Regions from separate parts of the Homo sapiens genome. Here region 1 is linked to region 2. Evidence: promoter capture Hi-C in human tissues and cell types (Jung and others, 2019). All regions are on one chromosome and are shown on one strand. The core of a region is centred on a gene start or on the middle of the fragment in contact, and the rest is flanking DNA. Distances in the headings are between cores, read along the strand shown. Region 1 overlaps CHP1 (calcineurin like EF-hand protein 1). Region 2 holds the start of ZFYVE19 (zinc finger FYVE-type containing 19).

Region 1 (4,560 bases), core at 1,125-3,624, 430 kb after region 2:
TGCAATGGCATGATCACGGCTCACTGCAGCCTCAAGCTTCTGGGCTCAAGCAATCCTCCCAGCTCAGCCTCCTGAGTAGCTGGGACTACAGGCACATGCCACCACGCCTGGCTAATTTTTTAATTTTTTGTAGAGATAGGGTTTCACCATGTTGCCCAGGCTGGTCTTGAACTCCTGAGTTCAGGTGGTCCGCTCATCCCAGTCCCCCAAAGTGCTGCGATTACAGAGGTGAGCCACTGGCCAGGAACTTTTTTGCGGGGGCAAGGAGGGGATGGTGGTCCAGACCAGAGAGTAGTTGGAGGTTTATTCATTCAGAAGATAATTGACCCCAGCAGCAGCTGCGAAGATATAAGCTTTATTTTTGTAAATTTCTGGATAAACCATTTGAAAGTTGCAGGTATTGGAACTCTTTACCCCTTCATACTTCTGCATGTATCCCTTAAGTATTGGGATGGTTTTTACGTAACAACAATACTATTATCACACCTAAGAAAGTTGATAATACTTCTTAATACTATCTTTTTTTTTTTTTTGAGACAGAGTCTTGCTCTTGTTGCCCAGGCTGGAGTGCAGTGACTCGATCTCAGCTCACTGCAACCTCTGCCTCCTGGGTTCAAGCCATTCTCTTGCCTCAGCTTCCCAAGTAGCTGGGATTACAGGTGCCTGCCACCAGGCCTGGCTAATTTTTTGTATTTTTAGTAGAGATGGGGTTTCGCCACGTTGGCCAGGCTGGTCTCGAACTCCTGACCTCAGGTGATCCACCCACTTCAGCCTCCCAAAGTGCTGGGATTACAGGCGTGAGCCACCGCACCTGGCCCCTTTTTTTCTTTTTCTTTTTTTTTTTTTAATTGAGATGGAGTTTCACTTTTGTCGCCCAGGCTGGAGTGCAGTGGCGCGATCTCAGCTCACTGCAACCTCCGCCTCCTGGCTTCAAATGATTCTCCTGCCTCAGCCTCCCAAGTAGCTGGGATTACAGGCATGTGCCACCACGCCTGGCTAATTGTTTTTATTTTTAGTAGATACGAGGTTTTACCATGTTGGCCAGGCTGGTCTCGAACTCCTAACCTCAGATGATCTGCCTGCCTCAGCCTCCCAAAGGGCTAGGATTATAGACGTGAGCCACCTTAATATTATCTATCATTCACTTCCTATTCAAATTTCTCCAATTATAAGAAGATAGATTTTGTTTGTTTTATATAATGTTTTAAAATCTCTCTTAATCCCTAAGAGACTAGTCCAGGGCTTGAAGTCTTCATGTCAGGGGGAATGTTAAGGTGTAGTCTATTCCGGGAAGCGCAGGCTTCAACTTTCCTTTATCTAGAGCTACCTTTAGCTGTACTTGTAATCTTTACATAGGTTATCAGTCTGTTCTTCTGCATTAAGATTTGGAATAAAGGCAAGGACAAAATAACTTTTTCTTTTCTTTTTTTTTGAGATGGAGTCTCGTTCTGTCACCAGGCTGGAGTGCAGTGGTGCAATCCCGCCTCCCGGGTTCAAGGGATTCTCCCGCCTCAGCCTCCTGAGTAGCTGGGACTATAGGCACGTGCCACCATGCCCGGCTAATTTTTGTATTTTTAGTAGAGATGGGGTTTCCCCATGTTGGCCAGGATGATCTTGATCTCTTGACCTCGTAATCCACCCACCTCCCAAAAGTGCTAGGATTACAGGCATGAGCCACCATGCCTGGCCCTCCAAAATAACTTTTTCTTACTCCCTTTTTGTTTTTATTCTTTCCTCTGCCACTTCTGCTTCGCACTTCTGTGAAATGCCTTCCTCCTCTTTGCACAATGCAGTGATGATAGAAAGATTTCAGCAACGTTAACAGGGTCTTTTTTTGTTTTTTTGGCGTGTGTTTTTTTTTTGAGACAGGGTCTCACTCTGTCACCCAGGTTGGAGTGGAGGGGTGTGATCATAGCTCACTACAACCTTGAACTCCTGGGCTGAAACAGTCCTTCTGCCTCTGCCTCCTAAATAGCTCAGCGTACAGGAATGCACCACGATGCCCAGCTAATGATTGATTGATTGATTATAGAGATGAAGTCTTGCTTTGTTGCCCAGGCTAGTTTTGAACTGGCCTTTCGTCAAGGGATCCTCCCACTTTAGCCTCCCAAAGTGCTAGGATTACAGGCATGAGCCACTGCCCTCAGCCAAACAGGGTCTTTTAAATAATCTTTTAACAATTTAAAATGATTATATACCCATACCAGTGGAGAAAAAATACAGCTTCATTCAAGACATGTTTATAGCAGGGCACGGTGGCTCATGCCTGTAATCCCAGCACTTTAGGGCGGCTGAGGCGGGTGGATCACGAGGTCGGGAGATCGAGATCATCCTGGCTAACACGGTGAAACCTGGTCTCTACTAAAAATACAAAAAAAAAAAAAAATTAGCCAGGCATGGTGGTGGCAGGTACCTGTAGTCGCAGCTACTCAGGAGGCTGAGGCAGGAGAATGGCCTGAACCTGGGAGGCAGAGTTTGCAGTGAGCCAAGATCGCGCCACTGCACTCCATCCTGGGTGACAAAGCAAGCCTCCATCTCAAAAAAAGAAAAAAGACACGTTTATATGCACGGCCTTCTCTGAGAGTAACTGTCAACTCCTGTTATTTCCTTTGGGTTACCAAGAATTGTGCAGGTTTTGGGCACCTATCTGACTAGCTTAGAGCCTTCTGGGGAAAATACTTCACTGGAAACATGATCTGCCTTCATTCACACCAGTTCCAGTACCTTTCTACACATGGATGGTGTAGCTCCTTTATAGGTAGATTGGGATTGTTCTGAGATTGCTTTATATTCTTTGTCACAGTGAATTTAGTACCTAAATTAAAGCCTTCTCTCCTTCTTTTTGTTAACAAAATTACTTGTAACCATATCGTTATGGTTCTAAAATTTGTTCTAAAATTTTGGAGATAAGTTTAGATATGACCATATTGATTAGTATTAAAAGTTGACATTTGGTTGTATGTTTCTCCACTGACTCCCATATAACCCAGTTCGTCCTGGAAGATAGTTTTTTTTTTTTTAATGTTTTGGCTACTTATTTACATTATTTATTTTTAACATATTAGTACATTATTTTTTGTTATCGTTTGTTTTGTTTTGTTTTGTTTTGAGGCGGAGTCTCACTCTGTCGCCCAGGCTGGAGTGCAGTGGTGAGATTTCAGCTCACTGCAACCTCCATCTCCCAGGATCAAGCGATTCTCCTGCCTCAGCCTCCCAAGTAGCTGGGATTATACCACCACACCTGGCTAATTTTTGTATTTTTAGTAGAGACAGGGTTTTACCATGTTGGCCAGGCTGGTCTTGAACTCTTGGCCACAGGTGATCTGCCCGCCCTCAGCCCCCCAAAGTGCTGGTATTGCAGGCTTGAGCCACCAGGCCTTGCCACATTTTGAATTTAAGCAGCCATAAACTGGTCTTAACATACTATAGGAGGTTTCAGTGCCCAGTTATTTTATTTCTTTTTTATTTATTTATTTTTTCGAGACAGAGTCTCCTCTCTGTCACCCAGGCTGGAGTGCAGTGGCGCAATCTCAGCTCACTGCAAGCTCCGCCTCCCAGGTTCAAACCATTCTCCTGCCTCAGCCTCCCGAGTAGCTGGGACTACAGGTGCCTGCCACCACGCCCGTCTAATTTTTTGTATTTGTAGTAGAGACAGGGTTTCACCGTGTTAGCCAGGATGGTCTCAATCTCCTGACCTCGTGATCCGCCCGCCTCGGCCTCCCAAAGTGCTGGGATTACAGCTGGGATTACAGGTGTGAGCCACCACGCCCAGCCTCAGTGCCCAGTTATTTTAGATGATATAGATTAGAAAGATGTTTAATGGCTCATTTGTGGATTTTTTTGGTTTAAAATAATTTTATTTTTTATTTTTATTTTTATTTTGTTCCCCAGCCTGGTCTTGAACTCCTGGCCTCAAATCATTGTCCTGCTTCTGCCTCTGGAAGTGCTGGGATTATAGGCGCCAGCCATCATGCCTGGCTCTCATTTGTTCATTGAAGGGGTCGGATTAGATAACATTTCTACCAATTTTAAAATTATATAAATTGGATAAAGAAGGACTCCAAAGCAATATAGAAAAAGTATGAATTACTAAATGAAAAGCAAGCTATTACAACTTTGTAAAGTACACGAGTAACTGATATTAGATGATATATGAAGAGCTGGGCGCGGTGGCTCATGCCTGTAATCCCAGCACTTTGGGAGGCCGAGGTGAGTGGATCACCCGAGGTTGGGAGTTTAAGACCAGCCTGACCAACATGGAGAAACCCTGTCTCTACTAAAAATACAAAATTAGCTGGGTGTGGTGGCGCATGCCTATAATTCCAGCTACTTGGGAGGCTGAGGCTGGAGAATCACGGGAACCCAGAAGGCGGAGGTTGTGGTGAGCCAAGATTGTGCCATTGCGCTCCAGCCTGGGCAAGAAGAGCGAAACTCTATCTCAAAAAAAAAAAAAAAAAAAAGATCTATGAAGAAATGAAAATGGCAGTGTTGGGATTGTGAACAAATTTTGTTTTTTTCAAAAAATCTTTTGGGAAACTTAGTAATTCTTTTTTTTTTTGA
Region 2 (4,668 bases), core at 607-3,106:
GGGCGTGGTGGCGGGTGCCTGTAATCCCAGCTACTTGGGAGGCTGAGGCAGGAGAATCACTTGAAACAGGAAGGCGGAGGTTGCAGTGAGCCGAGATCATGCCACTGCACTCCAGCCTGGGCCAAAGAGTGATACTCTGTCTCAAAAAAAAAAAAAAAAAAAAAATTAGCCGGGCGTGGTGGTACATGCCTGTAGTCCCAGCTACTCCGGAGGCTGAGGCAGGAGAATCGCTTGAACCTGGGAGGCAGAAGTTGCAGTAAGCTGAGATTGCGCCACTGCACTCCAGCCTGGGCGACAGAGCGAGACTCCGTCTCAAAAAATAATAATAGGCCGGGCACGGTGGCTCACGCTTGTAATCCCAGCACTTTGGGAGGCTGAGGTGGGCAGATCACGAGGTCAGGAGATCGAGACCACGGTGAAACCCCGTCTCTACTAAAAATAAAAATTATTAGCCGGGCATGGTGGCAGGCGCCTGTAGTCCCAGCTACTTGGAGAGGCTCAGGCAGGAGAATGGCGTGAACCCGAGAGGCGGAGGTTGCAGTAAGCCGAGATCGCGCCACTGCACTCCAGCCTGGGCCACAGAGCGAGACTCCGTCTCAAAAACAATAATAAAAAATAATAATAATAAAGAATTTAAAAAATAATAATTTGTAAACATAGAGCACTTAGAATACTATCCAGAAAAAAAAAATACTGTCTAGGACATAGTAAGCATTATACAGATGTTAGGAATTATTAATCCTAAAATATTGAAACACGAGAGAGGTGGAGCAGATGCTTTTGATGCTTCATAGACATCCCATGGCCATTTCTGATTTCAGCTGCGGCTGCAGGGGACAGATTTGTGCAGGTTGACAGCATTTCTCAAGGGCCCTCTGGGTCTCTCTGATTTTCTGCCCCAGAGCTTCCTCTTCTCAAAAGCTCACTCACCCCATGAGCAGGGCAGCCCAGAAGTACTGGGACATTAGTGGGCACTATTTTTTTTTCCTTTTTTTTTTTTTTTTTTGAGACAGTCTCGCTCTGTCGCCCAGACTGGAGTGCAGTGGTGCAATCTCAGCTCACTGCAACCTCCGCCTCCCGGGTTCCAGTGATTCTCCTGCCTCAGCCTCCCAAGTAGCTGGGACTACAGGTGTGTGCCACCACGCCCGGCTAATTTTTGTATTTTTAGTAGAGAAGGGGTTTCAGCATATTGGTCAGGCTGGTCTCGAACTTCTGACCACATGATCCGCCCGCCTCGGCCTCCCAAAGTGCTGAGATTACAGGCGTGAGCCACCGCGCCCGGCCTAGTAGACACTAATTTTCTTTCTTTCTTTCTTTTTTTGAGAAAGAGTCTTGCTCTGTCGCCCAGGATGGAGTGCAGTGGCGCGATCTCGGCTCAGTTGGGCACTAATTTTCATTTGATGAACGCCTCTCCTTCGTATATTGTTAAAACTACCACCATGATCCAGGGGGAGATAAAAGAAATCCTAAATCCAGCTTGATCAGTGTTTCACTCCCTGGCATCTTTATCACCACCTAAGGTAGCATGGACCTCTATACCATCTGCCTTAACCTTCTGATCCTCCTGCTTTTAGCCCACTAACTAGCACATGCTGAGAAGGGCATCAGCTACTTGAAAAGAGTCAATGGGCTTGAGTGGAAAAGAAAATAGAGACAGCAGGGTCATCGGTCACATTGGCAAGGGGGCATGAAAAGGGAGTGGAGAGGCTTTGAGATCTTACTTTTCTTTCGTTCTAGGCTCTTAGTGGAAGAATTAAATCAGCCTGCAGAAGAGACTGAAATGAGGCACCTCTTGTCACAGTCAAGGCAGAAGCGGAAACGGAGGCCGAGACTGCGCAGGCGCAGAGGAGGCTAGCGTTCCTTGCTGCCTCGCCCCGCGGCCTCTAGGAGACAGGGGCCACGGGGAGAGCACAGCCACCCGGCGCGAAGAGCCCTCTGTACCCCGCTTCCTCTTGAGGCCCTCGGACCGTCCAGGAAATGTCTGGGAGCCCGCCTGCGGAGGGCATAGCGCCGACCCTCGCTCCCCGCCCAGGACCCGAATGAACCTGGAGAGCGGATGCCAGCAGTGGCCGAGGCGCTAGGACAGGAAGGACCGCCAGACCTCTCAAGATCAGCCTTCCTCGCCACCGTTCTCACCTCTTTGTCCGCTGCCTTCTCCTCAATGCCTAGCAGCGCGTACAGGTCCATCTGTAAGAGCTCCTTGGTCACTGCCATGGTTCCGGCCTGACGGATTCGTACTACAACTCCCAAGAGTCTAAGCGCGCGTGAGGACTGCAGGCTCCGAGCGGCGCCTAGCCCTCTGGGAATTGTGTTCTGGGTCAGGCTTGACTGACTCTGAGGGAGGCCGGCAGTCGTGAATGAACTACGACTCCCAGCAGCCCCCGTTGCCGCCGCTGCCGTACGCTGGCTGCAGGAGAGCGTCCGGATTCCCTGCTCTAGGTCGCGGCGGGACAGTGCCAGTGGGCGTGTGGGGCGGGGCAGGGCAGGGAAGGGAAGGGCGGAGCTGGGGTGAGGGTCCAAGGGGCCCAGGACTTGGCCGGCGTGATCTCAGCTCTGCAGACCCTGCGGTGCTGGGAGCCACCATGGAGAGTAGGTGCTACGGCTGCGCTGTCAAGTTCACCCTCTTCAAGAAGGAGGCGAGTCTTCCCTCCCCGAGGGCTGCAGGGCCAGGGAGGAGAGGAGGGAAAAGCGCGGGACTTAACGTCCAAAGACTTGGTCTTACGGCTCCTTTCCAGCTGTGTGGTTTTGATGAAGTCATTGATCCTCAGTTTCCATTTCTGTAAAATGGGGCTAACATTCTCTCGCTTTCAGGGTTTATGTGAGGGTCCACTGAAGTGCTTTAGGTGAGAGTTCCCTATAAACTGTAAAGCGCGCTGCCGTCGTTTTTGCAAAGCTACTCTTTTCTGTCGGCCCAGTGTAGCATCTGGCGGTTTTCTTCTCTCCACCCTGCTCCTCCGAAGCGCGGTGTCCATCACACCAAGCCCGTTACTCCCTCTGCTCTGAAATCTTCCCCATCCCGCAGCCTGCCCTTCTCCAGGTCGCTGGAGTTAGATTACCACACTTCCTCCTGCTTCCGGGGCACCATGGTGAAGGCTGACTGTCCTGTCCCTATCACAGACCTGCCAGATTCCTCTGGTAAACTGCAGGTTCCCTCTGCCTCAGTTGTGGCCAGGGATTCTGACCAGGAGATGATGGGAACTAGATGGAGTAAATTAGTGTCACGCAGGAAGGCAGGACCGTGCAGCATTCACCAACCTGGATTTTGGAGTCAGCGTTCAAATCTGAGCTCTGCTGTCTTATTGAGGCGGTGACCTTGGTTTGGATAAGTTATGTAACCTCTCTGGCCCTCTCAAAATAAGGATAATCACGGTTGGCATCAAGATTAAGTAAAATAATGTGTGTAAATTGTAAGGAATAAATCACATGATGAATGTTAAGTACTGGGTTTAGTGCCTGGCACATAGTAAGTGCTTAATAAATGGAGGCTATTGTTAGCCCATCCTGAGCCAAGCCTCCCTCCATCTCTGCAAGAGCAGAGGAGGCATCGGCTCTGCCCTGTCTCTCTGATTCTCCTTTGTGGAAGAGTCAGTGGCCTGAAATACTGGGCTTTATCTATCTGTCTTCTACATCCCTGGGTCAGGGAATTGAAGACAGGGTAGAAAGCATGGGAATTTTGTATAAACCTTCATTTGGCTTGAATAAGGTACTGGAAACCGAGGAATTGCTTTACTCACCATCCCTAGGCCTTAGGGGCCCCACTCCTCTTCTTCCTCCCAGCAGCTGGTCATAACTTCAGTGACTTCTCTCTGTGTGTGCTTGGAGAGTCCCTGGGAGCAGCCTGCAGGGGCGGGTGAGAGGGGGATCTCCCGCTTCATGTTTCTTGTAGTACGGCTGTAAGAATTGTGGCAGGGCCTTCTGTTCAGGCTGCCTAAGCTTCAGTGCAGCAGTGCCTCGGACTGGGAACACCCAACAGAAAGTCTGCAAGCAATGCCATGAGGTCCTGACCAGGTAAGAGGCAGGCATGGGTGAAAGTTCAGCCAAGTATGGCAGTGGGCATCTGGCCAGCCCTCACAGCTTTGTACTCTGTCGCGAGAGTCAGCCGAGGAAGTGTTTGGAGTGGGGGGCACTGCCTGGTGGGATGGCAGGATTTATAACACTAGATTTCTTCTCTGTAGAGGGTCTTCTGCCAATGCCTCCAAGTGGTCACCACCTCAGAACTATAAGAAGTAAGTGCTGAAGAGAAAAAGACAAAGAGCATTGGGGAAAGGATAAGGGAGCCATAGGGAAAGACCCTGCCCCCATCTTCTAGATAAAATGAGCACAGAATCAGGAGAATTCTCTCCTCTCTGGCTCCTGACTGCCCTCTTGGGCTGGTAAAGCAGCTCTTCAGCCCTCTCTCCAGGACAGGCACTTGGTAGAGCTTGTCCTTTCAGCTGGACCGTCTGGCTGGTCAGCCAGGTTGGGCTGCAGGGTGACATGAGTGAGGGGCACAGCAGATTGCCCATTGGAGGCCTCCCTAAGTGCCCAGAAATGATTTGATTTGAATGGGAAACAGTGAGTGGGTGCCTTCACTCTTCCCCTCTGCCTTCTTCAAGAGCCTCTATCTCATATCCTGCCAGGCGTGTGGCAGCCTTGGAAGCCAAGCAAAAGCCCAGCACTTCCCAGAGC

What was found. The method cuts DNA at HindIII sites, captures the fragments that hold promoters and counts their contacts. A contact is called where the count stands out against the background at its distance.
Region 1: a contact is called between a fragment that was not itself captured here and the fragment with the promoter of ZFYVE19 in region 2, in 1 of the 25 tissues and cell types used here (lymphoblastoid cells).

Annotation. Positions count from the first base shown.
Region 1 is chr15:41,236,314-41,240,873 of GRCh38, forward strand. All of the region lies in intron 1 of CHP1 (calcineurin like EF-hand protein 1), which reads left to right. Among named protein-coding and RNA genes, the nearest start is that of CHP1, 7.3 kb to the left of the region's middle. The HindIII fragment of the contact is 5,914 bases long and covers 1-4,560 here.
Region 2 is chr15:40,805,233-40,809,900 of GRCh38, forward strand. ZFYVE19 (zinc finger FYVE-type containing 19) reads left to right here and starts at 1,857. Exons shown (of 11, transcript NM_001077268.2): 1 at 1,857-2,636; 2 at 3,887-4,008; 3 at 4,176-4,226; 4 at 4,620-4,668. The coding sequence starts at 2,358. DNAJC17 (DnaJ heat shock protein family (Hsp40) member C17) reads right to left here and starts at 2,241. Exons shown (of 11, transcript NM_018163.3): 1 at 2,137-2,241. The coding sequence starts at 2,214. RefSeq lists enhancers at 1,520-1,609, 2,070-2,119, 2,160-2,209, 2,840-2,889. The HindIII fragment of the contact is 16,570 bases long and covers 1-4,668 here.